Regions from separate parts of the Homo sapiens genome. Here all the other regions are linked to region 1. The links are contacts of gene promoters, found by promoter capture Hi-C in human tissues and cell types (Jung and others, 2019). All regions are on one chromosome and are shown on one strand. The core of a region is centred on a gene start or on the middle of the fragment in contact, and the rest is flanking DNA. Distances in the headings are between cores, read along the strand shown. Region 1 holds the start of PTPRO (protein tyrosine phosphatase receptor type O). Region 2 overlaps PTPRO (protein tyrosine phosphatase receptor type O). Region 3 overlaps PTPRO (protein tyrosine phosphatase receptor type O).

What was found. Contacts are between HindIII fragments. The study calls those that stand out against the background at their distance.
Region 2: a fragment that was not itself captured here is called in contact with the fragment with the promoter of PTPRO in region 1 in 3 of the 25 tissues and cell types used here (H1 embryonic stem cells, dorsolateral prefrontal cortex and mesenchymal stem cells).
Region 3: a fragment that was not itself captured here is called in contact with the fragment with the promoter of PTPRO in region 1 in 2 of the 25 tissues and cell types used here (hippocampus and lymphoblastoid cells).

What each region holds. Positions count from the first base shown.
Region 1 is chr12:15,320,192-15,324,437 of GRCh38, reverse strand. PTPRO (protein tyrosine phosphatase receptor type O) reads right to left here and starts at 1,930. Exons shown (of 27, transcript NM_030667.3): 1 at 1,637-1,930. The coding sequence starts at 1,711. All of the region lies in intron 2 of LOC105369673 (a long non-coding RNA gene), which reads left to right. The HindIII fragment of the contact is 7,625 bases long and covers 1-3,659 here.
Region 2 is chr12:15,461,730-15,465,547 of GRCh38, reverse strand. The region is part of intron 1 of PTPRO (protein tyrosine phosphatase receptor type O); the gene reads right to left. Among named protein-coding and RNA genes, the nearest start is that of PTPRO, 140 kb to the right of the region's middle. The HindIII fragment of the contact is 5,115 bases long and covers 1-3,818 here.
Region 3 is chr12:15,525,084-15,528,996 of GRCh38, reverse strand. It overlaps PTPRO (protein tyrosine phosphatase receptor type O), which reads right to left. Exons shown (of 27, transcript NM_030667.3): 12 at 2,735-2,855. Among named protein-coding and RNA genes, the nearest start is that of PTPRO, 200 kb to the right of the region's middle. RefSeq lists enhancers at 2,642-2,711, 2,240-3,439. The HindIII fragment of the contact is 4,719 bases long and covers 1-3,913 here.

The sequences.
Region 1 (4,246 bases), core at 681-3,180:
AATATCGAGTTTTAAGTCAAACAATGGCCACATTTATTTTATTTTAATTGCAAAACCTTACCCCCACTCCCAACCAAGTCATTCTCTTATTTCTGGAATTATCTCATTATGAAGAACTCACGCAAAAACCTGCAGTTGTGCTAAACGTTAGGTTTGGATCAGATGTCATACATATAACTCTTAGCTGTTGCTCGTAAAATGCATAGTGACTTGGTTTCTAATTTTTGGTTCATGACAATTATTGCATAGGTAAAATAGTTGTGACAGTTTGATAAATAGTTAGAAAACGACTAATAGACAACCTAATAAGTCTAATGCATTTATGATGTGTATGAAAGAACAACCTCCTACAGTAAAAACATATAACTGAGCTTATTATTTACCATACTTTAAAATTAATGATTATTGATAATTTAAGAAAAAATGTTAAAACATATTAAATATATTTTAAGGTCTTACTTAGGCATTCTGTTGCTGTTTCTCCCTGAATTTTTTTTATATTTTTCATTAAGATAAATGAAAATATGGAGTATTTAAAAGTAATGCTGTTCTTAATCCATTGGTCCTGTTCCATTATATTCTTTTTAGGCATTCATAATTAATGGTGCATATAAGCAAGAAGTGACTCTATAATAAGAAAACCTTTGGATCCATTAACCTGGCATCCATTTCTAGGGAAGGTATCACTGTGGTCCTGAAAGGATAGCTCCAAGTCACCTGTCGACATTCTTGAGTTTGCTTTGCGGAGAGAGGAAAAGACTAACAACAGAACTAAAGTAGATCCACTGAAGACATGAGTGATAGACAATCACTTCAGAACTTCACATCGCCGTCCAAGAAAACATCTAGCTGACATTTCTTCAAAAAAATTTATGTACAGTATAGTTGTCAAACTGATTTTTCAAAAGCAACTCCTTTGCTTTTCATTTTTCTCAAAGTAAAACCTCAGGGTAGCACATTCCAAAGAAGATACGAAAAAGTTTATTATTATATATTTTTCCACCATTAAATCTAGGGGTAATATCATCTGTAAATATAGTGGAGAAAGTCTGGAGACTTTTTAAAAGGAATTGTAAAGATGTTGATAGGAGTTGGGGAGAGGAATCCTTACCAAGCTCTCTACCTGACACTCCTTATTCAAAGAAAATTCTGCCCTAACGTAGCCCTGGCAGTCCATTTGTGTCCAGGGAGCTCAGTCCCCCTCCACTCTCCAGTGTATAATTCCAGCAGTAAGGAAAATTAAGACAAAGCATTCTGTGCGAGGGAGGGCGGAAAGGTTAAGCAGCGTTGGGGTGCAGTGGAAACCAGAAAAGAAAGTGACCTCATTTTGCCTGAGAAAGCACGATCCAACAAGCCCACCTTTGATGTGGATTTCAGCAGCGATAAAAGAGCACAAAGGGCGAAAGCCGGAGGGAGCAAACTTCCCTTATTCTTCCCCCCGCCCCCTACCTCTCAAGACCACCAGGAACACGCACACGCGAGGACAACAAAGCGTGCGCCCAGGCTGCACGGCAGGCGCTTCCCGCGGCTGGGCCATCGTGCCCTGGGGCGCGCCGCTCCCAACGGCAGAGCGAGGGCGCCGGAGCGCGGCTGCCGCCCGGACCGCTGGGAAAAAGGGGTGGAGGAGCTCCCCTACCTTGAACAGCACAAAGAGCCAGAGCAGAGGCAGGAGGCGGCGGGCGCCGTGTATCCCCGTGGGCAGGTGCCCCATCGCTGCGCGGACGGGGACTCGGGGGCACGGCTGCGCTAGCGGACTCCCCCGGCGGCGGCTCACAATGGCGAACTGGGGCTGCAGCCTCAGACCCTGGGCGCCGAGGTTGCTCCTGGCGAGCGCATGCTGCCTTTCCAGTCCCCCTGCGCCTGCTCCCTTTCCTCCTCTGCGCCCGGGGTCCTCCAAGAACGTGCCAGGCGCTGCTGTTCTTTAATGACTAAGGATGGAGAGGGTGGGGATTGGAGTGGGCGAGGCTCTGCCGCCGCCACCACCGCGGCTGCCAGAGGAGGCGCGGGGTCTGTGTGGTGAGCGAGAGGCGGGGACCCCGCGCCCAGCCCGCCGTAGTCCTCTGGCAGCAGGGACACTCTCACTCTGGCTGCCGACCCATAAAATGACAGCAGCCTCCCAACCCTCCACCAGGATCGGCCCGCTGCTTGCTACTGCTGGACAGCCCCCATTGCAGACTCCGCCTCAACCCCTCCCTCAATCTCTGGGTCTCAGGAGTTCTGAGGGGTTTCCCTGACCTCTCTTGAGCAATCCAGGCGCCAGATCCCAGTTCCCTCTCAATCTTCCTACATCTGTACTCAATTGCAGTTATAAAGGATCAATAACAGTTGGGTAGTTGTGACTGTAGAAATAGTGTGTAGTGTGAGTGTGTGAGTGTGTGTGATAGGAAGGGTATTTTCTCTCCTTCCCCACTGCTTCCATTATCTCCATCCCATTTCAACACTCTCACCGTCTCCGTCCCACACTCACCCAGGAACAAATAGCACAATTATGCACCTTTTCCATTTGAAATCCGCAGTTCTTGTACATTTCAGATTCTCTTTTGATACCAAAGTGTGTCGGGTCACCTGAAGCTGAATATAGAAGGGGGAAAAATCACAGTATTTTACATGTATGACCCTTGAACAACACGGGTTTGAACTGTTGGGTCCAGTTATATGCAGATTTTCTTCCACCTTTGCCAGCCTTGAGACAGCAAGACCAAACCCTCTTCCTCCTCCTCTGCCTGCTCAGCCTGAAAAGGATGACGTTAAAGACTTTTATGATAATTCACTTCCACTCAATGAATATAAATGTATTTTCTCCTCTTTATGGTTTTCTTAATAATATTTTCTGTTCTCTAGCGTACTTTATTGTAAGAATACAGTATACAATACATACAACACAAAATGTGTGTTAATCAACTGTTTATTATGTTATCAGTAAGGTTTCCGGTCAAGAGTAGGCTATTAGTAGTTAAGGTTTTGATGAGTTCAAAGTTATATGTGGATTTTCAACTACGTGATTCTCTGTGTTGTCCAAGTGTCAACGGTATGTACAGTTATATTTTTAAACAATTATCTGTGAATAATTTTACTGGGATGTTTTAGAATCACAAGCAACGACTTTCAAGCTGTGGGTCCCCAATCTACTACTTGTCTCCTTTTTTGTTATGTGTATTTTTTTAAAGATAAGTCTGTCGAAATCAACTCTGGTATGCACTGTTCAGATAGAAATCATTTCTTATTGTCATGTAAATTACCCTTGCTGTGCCCTGTCAGTATTGGAACTTATTTATACCTGAGACATGCTTGGGCAACAGGAGACAGGAAAGGCCACCCTGGTCATGAATGTAGGTGTTCAGGCATAGACTTTGTCAGTCACACAGCTAGGGAGTGGTGGCCTGAGAAAAGGATCCAGAGCTGTGTTTACTCAGCTTTTGCTGCATGAGCAATGGCCAAACACTAATCATTTGGTTGTTGTTTGTATGTGTCTTAAGGAAGCTTTAGATTGAATATGTTTACATAAGTGTGAATATGTATATATACACATGTGTACATGTACACATATGTGTACATGTACATATGTGTACACACATGTGTGTGCATGTACATATGTGTACACATATGTGTGTGCATGTACATATGTGTGTACACATATGTGTATGTGTGTACATAGATACATATGTGTATGCATACGTATATGTATATGTACGCATATGTATATGCATGGTACATATATGTATATATGTACCAAATTTCATATGCATGAAATATGTACCAAAATTCATATGCATGAAAATATAGAATGATGGTCTGAATTTTTGTGAGAATATTATCCTTGGTGTCTTCTTTTAGAAGCTTCTTTTGTTTTCACATTCCCATCACATGCTCTCTTCAGGTCCCTCATGTCCACTCATCATTGGTTTGGACATTTTCTTTCTTTTGAGAAAATGTTAACTGCTCCTCCCTCCCTCTGGGTTAGACTTACGGGCTATCTGAACATTTAATCCTTGGGATTGCACTTATAGGAACTTTGGTTTAATATGTTTTCTTTTTATTTTGACGCTCCTGAAGCAGCATTTTATTCCCACTCGCCCTCAGAAGTGGCTGTAAAGTGATCTAATCTCTAGAACATAAGATATATATAGGCCAAGGGCAACAATCACACTCACAGGATGCCAACAATTTCTCTTTGGAGTAGCATTTAATTTTAAAATGTGTCTGTGAATTATGGGTCTGTATGATGATATTCATTTGTGTGTATGCA
Region 2 (3,818 bases), core at 49-2,548, 140 kb before region 1:
TGTGTACCTGGAAACATACAACTCTACTAATTGGCAGATTGTTCTTAGAGTAAGACGTAGAAGTAATTTTAAATGTCTCTTCTCCTTTACTAAAATTCTTCTGTCCCCAAGTTAGGTATTTATAACATCTTCTTAAACCAATATATAAAGAAGAAATATGTTCAGGTTATTCACATAAAACAGAATATAGCTAGAACATTTTGCACGTTCATCTTCATTTCACAATGTTAACTTCAAATTGTCACCATTTCTAACTTTCCAATGCATGAGTAATATGTTCAGCCAGCACTGATGCTATTTTGAATTACAAGAAGGCTGGAACAACAATATGATATTTATGTTTTATAAATGAAGCTCAAAAATATCTTTGTCTTTGAGAACAGCTGTAAAAAGACAGTATTCAACTTATTGCACCAAGTGAAAGGATTCCATTCTTTGGAAGGATGGGCATTTATATAAATCATGCTGTGCTATTTGGTGTTAAGGAAACATTATTACTTTTACTTGACATATTGAACTTGTTAATTGGCATGTCATCATTAAATATTTTCTTATTGCTTGCTACCATATGTATTTCAAAAAGTGAAAAATAGAAATTTAGCATCATTAAAATAATTTTTAAAAATGATTTTTATTATTAGAAAATTTTAATGGTACAAGTTCTAATGACAATGTTGAAAATTTTCATAGAATTCTTTACAGAAATGTTTAAGTCTCTTTTCACACATTTGCCTATTATTTGAAAGCCTCTGTTCATAAGATGGCTGTTATTGGTGGTCTGAAACAAGTATATCATGCTAATTTACAATAATCCACACAGGTTACAACAAACAAAATATCTCTATTTACAAAGGTTTTATTCAATTTATAATAAAGACTAAATAAAGTCAGCTGGGCACGGTGGCTCATACCTGTAATCCCAGCACTTTGGGAGGCCAAGGTGGGCAGATCACTTGAGGTCAGGAGACCTGCCTGGCCAAGATGGTGAAACCCCCCTCTATTAAAAATACAAAAAAAAAAACAAAATTAGCTGGGCGTGGTGGCATGTGCCTGTAATCCCAGCTACTTAGGAGGCTGAGGCAGGAGAATCCCTTGAACCCAGGAGGTGGAGCTTGCAGTGAGCCGAGATTGTGTCACTGCACACCAGCCTGGGTGACAGAGTGAGACTCAGTCTCCAAAAAAAAACCCAAAACAAAACAAAAAAACTGAATAAAGTCATAGCACGCAGCATTTTCACCAGTGGCTGTGTGTTAGATCCACATGATTTGAAAAAACCAATGTTAATGTGCTTGAAGTTCTGAAACATGCCTTTCTTGTAGTCCATGTTAATTTTCCATTTGTTAACTACTTTATTTCTATTTCCTCCTCCCTGCATAAGATTCCCCTTCTCTCTTCTGCTGTGCCTCTTTTTTCTCACTTCTTCCTCTCTTTGCATTGTTTCTTACCATCTCCTTTGTGCTATGTTTAGTTAGTTCTGTATATAAAATTTCTGGGAGATTTTAGCCATTGAAGTACAGAAAATGAGACCTCACCTATCATCTATCACAGTATACAGCATAGTACTTTACTGTTTGGAACTTGAGAAATATCTGTAAAATTAAATTTATCTATCCATCCACATAACCAGCCTACATGTTTTGAGCCTTTAACCACATATTCTCACTGTGGCTGTCCAGCCTACCCCTCCTGTGTCAGAGTATTTATTTTTATTATTATAGTTCAGTTTCTGGGTTATTAAGGTAAAACCATATTATTGTATTATAGAAATGAAAGAATACCTGGACAAACAAAGAGAGCTAGTAGGAAGAGAAGCATGAAAGTAAAAAGGGAGGAAGGAGGAATCAGATGGAGAGAAAGAATATCAACAAAGAATAGCTAGGAGACAATGAAGAAAGCTTGTAAATTGGGAATAAGAGTAATATTGAATGATATAATGGTGATAGAATAAGACTGATATTTTGCATCTTTTCTGGTTATAACTCCTACCTGTATAATTATTTAATGCCTGACAAAGAAGGAAACTAATATAAATATCTCAATTGTTTCCTTATCCACCATCCATCTTCATTTTTTCTTCTATGACTATGTTATAATTTGTTTCTGATTTGCAGAGAATGCATTCTTAAAAAAATCATAGATAAAACTTTAATAAATCATATGTTGCTATGGGAACTAATAGAGCTTTAATCTTCTCCCTTTCCATGCAGTGGCTGTTCATTCACCGGGCTAAGATGGTGCCACAGAGATTCAAATATTGGATGGGAGATTGGAGTTTAGGATCTATTGATTCATAACTTTGAAGAGTTATGAATTAATAAAAGCTGAACCTTTGAGTAATTTCTAAGAATATTAAGAGATACATGCCAGATTTCCTTTTAGGTCATAAGTATCCAGGATTTATTTTCTTTACAATGACAATTTCTCTCAAGCCTTTCCCATTAAGTTAAGCTTTGAGAAAACAAATCACACACCATTTGCAGAAGAATTTAATAATAATTCAATGCATTATTTTGCAAATATATTGGTGCATAATTTATAATAATATGATGAGTTATATATATAGTATATAACAATATGATTCTTTGTTTCATTGGAATAAGAAATACTATTAACCTGATGCATTTGTTTAATTGATTAATGCATCTACATTTTTAAGTATTCCATTTAGCTTCAAAGTAAGAAAGAAATTTTTAGTTATCAGGTAATTATAATTAAGCCCATACTGACTGCTGTAATTAAAGAGAGAAAAGAATAATAACAATTGTAATAGCTAGCATACATTAAGTGAATAATATATGCCAGGAATTTCTCTACATGTCTTGAGTGAATTATGCCTATTCCTTAAAGCAATATTTAGAGCTTATTATTATTTAATCAACAATGGAAGTAGAAGACAAGAATTCATATAGGCAATTCAAGCAATTATTTTTAGTGCTTACTTGGTATTATCTACAAGAACATGATTGTGAGCACGGAACACTGGTCTCAGCCCTCACAGAGATAAGTTACAAATAAGCAATAACAGTAAGAAGCAACAAATATTATGACTAAAAGCACAGAGCACCATGGCAGCAAGAGTATTTTACCAGTGACGGTGAAGATGACACTTAAAAGATGAGCAAGGGCAGGTGTGGTGGCTCACACCTACAATCCCAGCACTTTGGGAGGCCGAGGCGGGTGGGTCACTTGAGGTCAGGAGTTTGAGACCAGCCTGGCCAACGTGGTGAAACCCGGTCTCTACTGAAAAAATACAAAATTAGTCGGGCATGGTGAAGCATGCCTGTAATTCCAGCTACTTGGGACACTGAGGCAGGAGAACCACTTGAACCCAGGAGGTGGAGGTTGCAGTGAGCCAAGATTGCACCATTGCATTCCAGCCTGGGCAACAAGGGTGAAATGCCGTCTCAAAAGAAAAAAGATGAGCAACATTAAGCTAAGTAAAGAGGCTGGTGTGTGTGGTATATTTCAGGCAAGAGGGGATGGAAAGTAGCAGTGTGGTTAGGGACAGAAGATGAGCATAGCACCTTCAAGCAACAGAAACAGCCTTGGGGCTGTTAAAGTGTTCCAGGCATGAGATGAACATGGTCAGCTTTTCTTTTGGGAACAAAGGAATACTAGTTGAACTGAGGAAGCAGGAAACCAAGAAAGCAGGAATCAGGAGACTAGTTAAAATGCTGTAGCAGGCCAGGCATGGTTGCTCACGCCTGTAAACCCAGCACTTTGGGAGGCTGAGGCGGGCGGATCACGAGGTCAGGAGGTCGAGACCATCATGGCCAACACGGTGAAACCCCATCTCTGCTAAAAATACAAAAATTAGC
Region 3 (3,913 bases), core at 893-3,392, 200 kb before region 1:
ATGACAGGTCTGGTAGTGGTGAATTCTTTCATCTTTTGTTTTTCTGAGAAATACTTTATCTTTCCTTCATATTTGAAGGACAATTTTGCTGGATACATTATTCTTGGATGGCAGTTTTTTTTCTTTGAGCACTGTAAAAATGTTCTTCCTCATGGCCTGTACAGTTTGTTGCCAGGTGAATTGCAGCTTGTTTACCTGTTATTTGCTCCTTTTCTCTTGATGCTTTCAGGATCTTCTCTTTGTCCTTGACCTTTGAGAGTCTGAGTATTATACGCTTTGGGGTGATTTTATTTGAGTGGTATCTGTTTGGTATTCTCAGACCCTCATGAACCTGGCTATTTGTACCTGTCTCAAGTTTTGGAATGTTTTCTATTATTATTTCTTTCAGTAAACTTCCTTATTCAGCTCCCCCTTGAATACTAATAATTCTTATGTTTGATCTTTTAAGGTTTTTTTAATACCTTTTTTTTTTTTGACAGATTCTTGCTCTGTCACCCAGGCTGGTGTGCAGTGGTGCGATCTCGGCTCACTGCAAGCTCCACCTCCTGAGTTCACATCATTCTCCTGCCTCAGCCTCCCGAGTAGCTGGGACTACAGGCACCCGCCACCATGCTGGCTAATTTTTTTTTTTTTTTTGTATTTTTATTAGAGACAGGGTTTCACCATGTTAGCCAGGATGGTCTTGATCTCCTGACCTCGTGATCTGCCCGCCTTGGCCTCCCAAAGTGCTGGGATTACAGGTGTGAGCCACCGTGCCCAGCCTTTTTTTTTTAATATCTTATAGTCAGACTTCACTTACTTTCAGTCTTATTTTTCTTTTTTCTCCTCCAATGGTGTATTTTCAGATAGGCTTTTAGCTCCCTGAATCATTCCACTCCTTTGTCCATTCTGCTGTGATGTGTTTTTCAGTTCAGCAAACGTATTTTCCAGTACCAAGAATTTGTTTGATTTAAAAATTTCTCTGATAAATTTCTGAATTGCTTTTCTGTGTTTTCCTGGACATCACTGATTTTCCTTAAACTGTATTTTGAATTCTTGTTCAGAGAGCTCACAGATCACCATCTTGTTAGGGTCAGTCATTGGATTTTTGCTTTGTCCTTTTCCTGGGTAGCGTGGGCGGGTCACAGTTCCCTGTTTGATGTTGTTTCTTATGGGCATAGAACTATGTCTTTGCATTAAATAATTAACTATTTAGTCCACTTTCCTTTGTCTGCCTTGCCTTGTTTTGTCTTTTATTGGCTATGTTTGCCTAGCAAATATTTACCACTAGATCACTGCCTACATTTCAGCTCTAGGTGGCACCTTAAGTCCAGATTTGCCTTGGCTCTGCCTGTCCTGAAAAAGAAAGGTCTTAAAGGAATTATCCTGGCAGTGTGTCAAAGTTAGCTGGGGGGCTCATGCCCAAGGGACCTGTGAAATGTACCTCCTACAGTATGGTGCTGCTGAACAGCCACTCTGATTTGGTGTCTCCTTTGGCCAAGTTACAGAGCAGAGTTGCTGGGACTGGGAATGGTAGTTCCATCTCATCTCTTTGTTTCTGCCTATCCTCAAGCTATTTCTCCCTTCAGGCAGTCACGATGCTTCCTGTGGGTTAAGGCAAGGACAGATTTCCTGCCAGGGAGCCCAAGATAGTGGGGAAACTAGTTGACTACCTCAACCTCACTTTTTCCAGTGTAGAAACATGAGTTGGCAGAAGATTTTCTGCACACTTGTTGCCAGGCAGAATCGCGGGGGAGGCGTCACGAATGTGGAAGCCTGATTCTCCTACCATCTGCCCAGAGTATTTTCACTTCTCTATGGCTCTGGAATCGGTCGCATCCTCGTATTTGAGTTCTGGGTTGTTGCTGGTGAAAATCTCAGAGTGTATATTTGCTTTTGGTTTTCTGTTGGGTAGAGGGGAGTGAAGCCAGCTTGCTTCTATGCTGCCATTTATAAACTTTTGGTGTGTTGTCCCTACTTTAATTAAAATTATTTCCATCTTTCTCTCATTATATGAAAATATATCTCATCTTTTAGTACTTATTTTAACTCTAGTTTTTATTCTAGTATCTACCTGTATCTATGCTTGTTTAGTTATTTGTTATCAATTTATATTAACTTGTTCATTTCTTTGCTTATTTTTATACTTCTTATATGAAGGACTAATGATCTTTTTATTTCTTATAAACCCCAACTTATTCATTTTAATTATATCTAGGCATCAGGTAATTTCATTATGTCTTTTAGAGTAGTTGTGTCTGACCATATATTTAGGAAATCCATATTATTTTATTATAAATTAGTTTCTTTTTGTCTTGATTTTATTCTGGAGTTGGGAAACTATATAAAATTTAAAAAATCAATATGTAGATTTTTAAATCCATTACTATTTAAGATATTAAAGAGAGCATTACATAATATTAATATGAAAATAGAATGTTGTCTTATAGGGTTGTGAACACTGCATTAGATAATCTCTAATGTGCTTCCATCTCCAAAATCCTATGACTACCTGGTTTCTTTAACCTTACAAAGAACAGCGAACACCACTGTTTCCCAGAACAGTATACAACCCACTCACAGAAACTTGTACCAAGTTGAACATACCCTTTTGCTAGTACAAATGTCTATTTTCTACTCATAAAAAATTAGCCATTTTTCTGTTATTATTTCATTGAATTGAGGAGCTCTTGCTGAATCGAATGATGCAAACATTAGTGATTATTTCACACCCATCTCTGTGCACTCTTCTTACCTAGCTTGACAAGGCGGAGCATGGAGGTATTACTTCCTCTTTCAGTACAAGCAGTTACTGAGAGGTTATAGATGTCGCCTGGAGGCAAGCTGAGAATTGCAGTCATGACATTGCGTGTTACCTGCAAGATCATCAAAATCAAGGGTTTAAACTTTTAGTGAATGAATCAGTGCACCACCCCAAACAACTAAAGGACTATAGCAGACACATTCCCTCTCTGTTCTATGCAGCAGTCTGCAATTGATTATATTATAGATACGTTATATCTTCTGAAAATTTTATAAATTCCTCAGCTGGGCCCAATGTGAGGTAGCCTTAATAATGCATTATATACATCAGAAAAATTTTGCAATGAATTCCCTTATTTGGAATGGGTCTCATTCTGACATTTTCTCACATATTGATAACAGGTTTTAGAAAAGACAATTACTGAGTTGCTACTGATATGTACATTCTAAGACGTTCAAAAGAAACCTACCCATATCTGTAGACGTGTGGCTTCCTACCTAACAGCCATTGTTATTTCCCATCCTCTCCTACAGCTAGAGGGGATGATGTGACCCAGCTCTGATCAGTGGATTGTAAGTAGAAGTCACATGGACAAATGACAGTTCAGTTCACATCCTGTAAGTGCTGGGCTTCCACATCATCCCTTTTCTTTTCCCCTTCCTGCAGGCTGGAACATGCATGTAATGGTGATAAAGCTTCCTCTCTAGAGACAAGGACTATGCATAGTGGCAGATGGAACAACAAAACAGAATTTGCCTCCCTGGGTGACCCCTTAAAGCAGAAGTGCCTGGTTAGTCCTGTGCTATCATGGGAGAGGTATAAACTTCTATTTTGTTTGAGCCACTCTCTTTTTGTTTGTTTCTTTATTACAGTAGTTTAGTCTGTCCCCTTATCAATAAACATCCAAAAGCGTATTTTGGAGAAAAGAAATCAGTAGTCCCAAGGTCCCCAAATCTTTAGGTGTCGGTGATATATGGGAAAAAATGGGAAACACGTTAATTGTAGTTTTCTTGAAAATGTTTGGCATCCTGAAGAAAAAGCTCAAATCATAATTCTAAATATAAATGAAATCAATAGTTGGAGCTCTTACATCTCACTGTTAAAGATTAAACGGTAAGCTCTATGAAAGGAAGAATTCAATTTTTGTTCACTGTCTTATCTCCAGAGCCT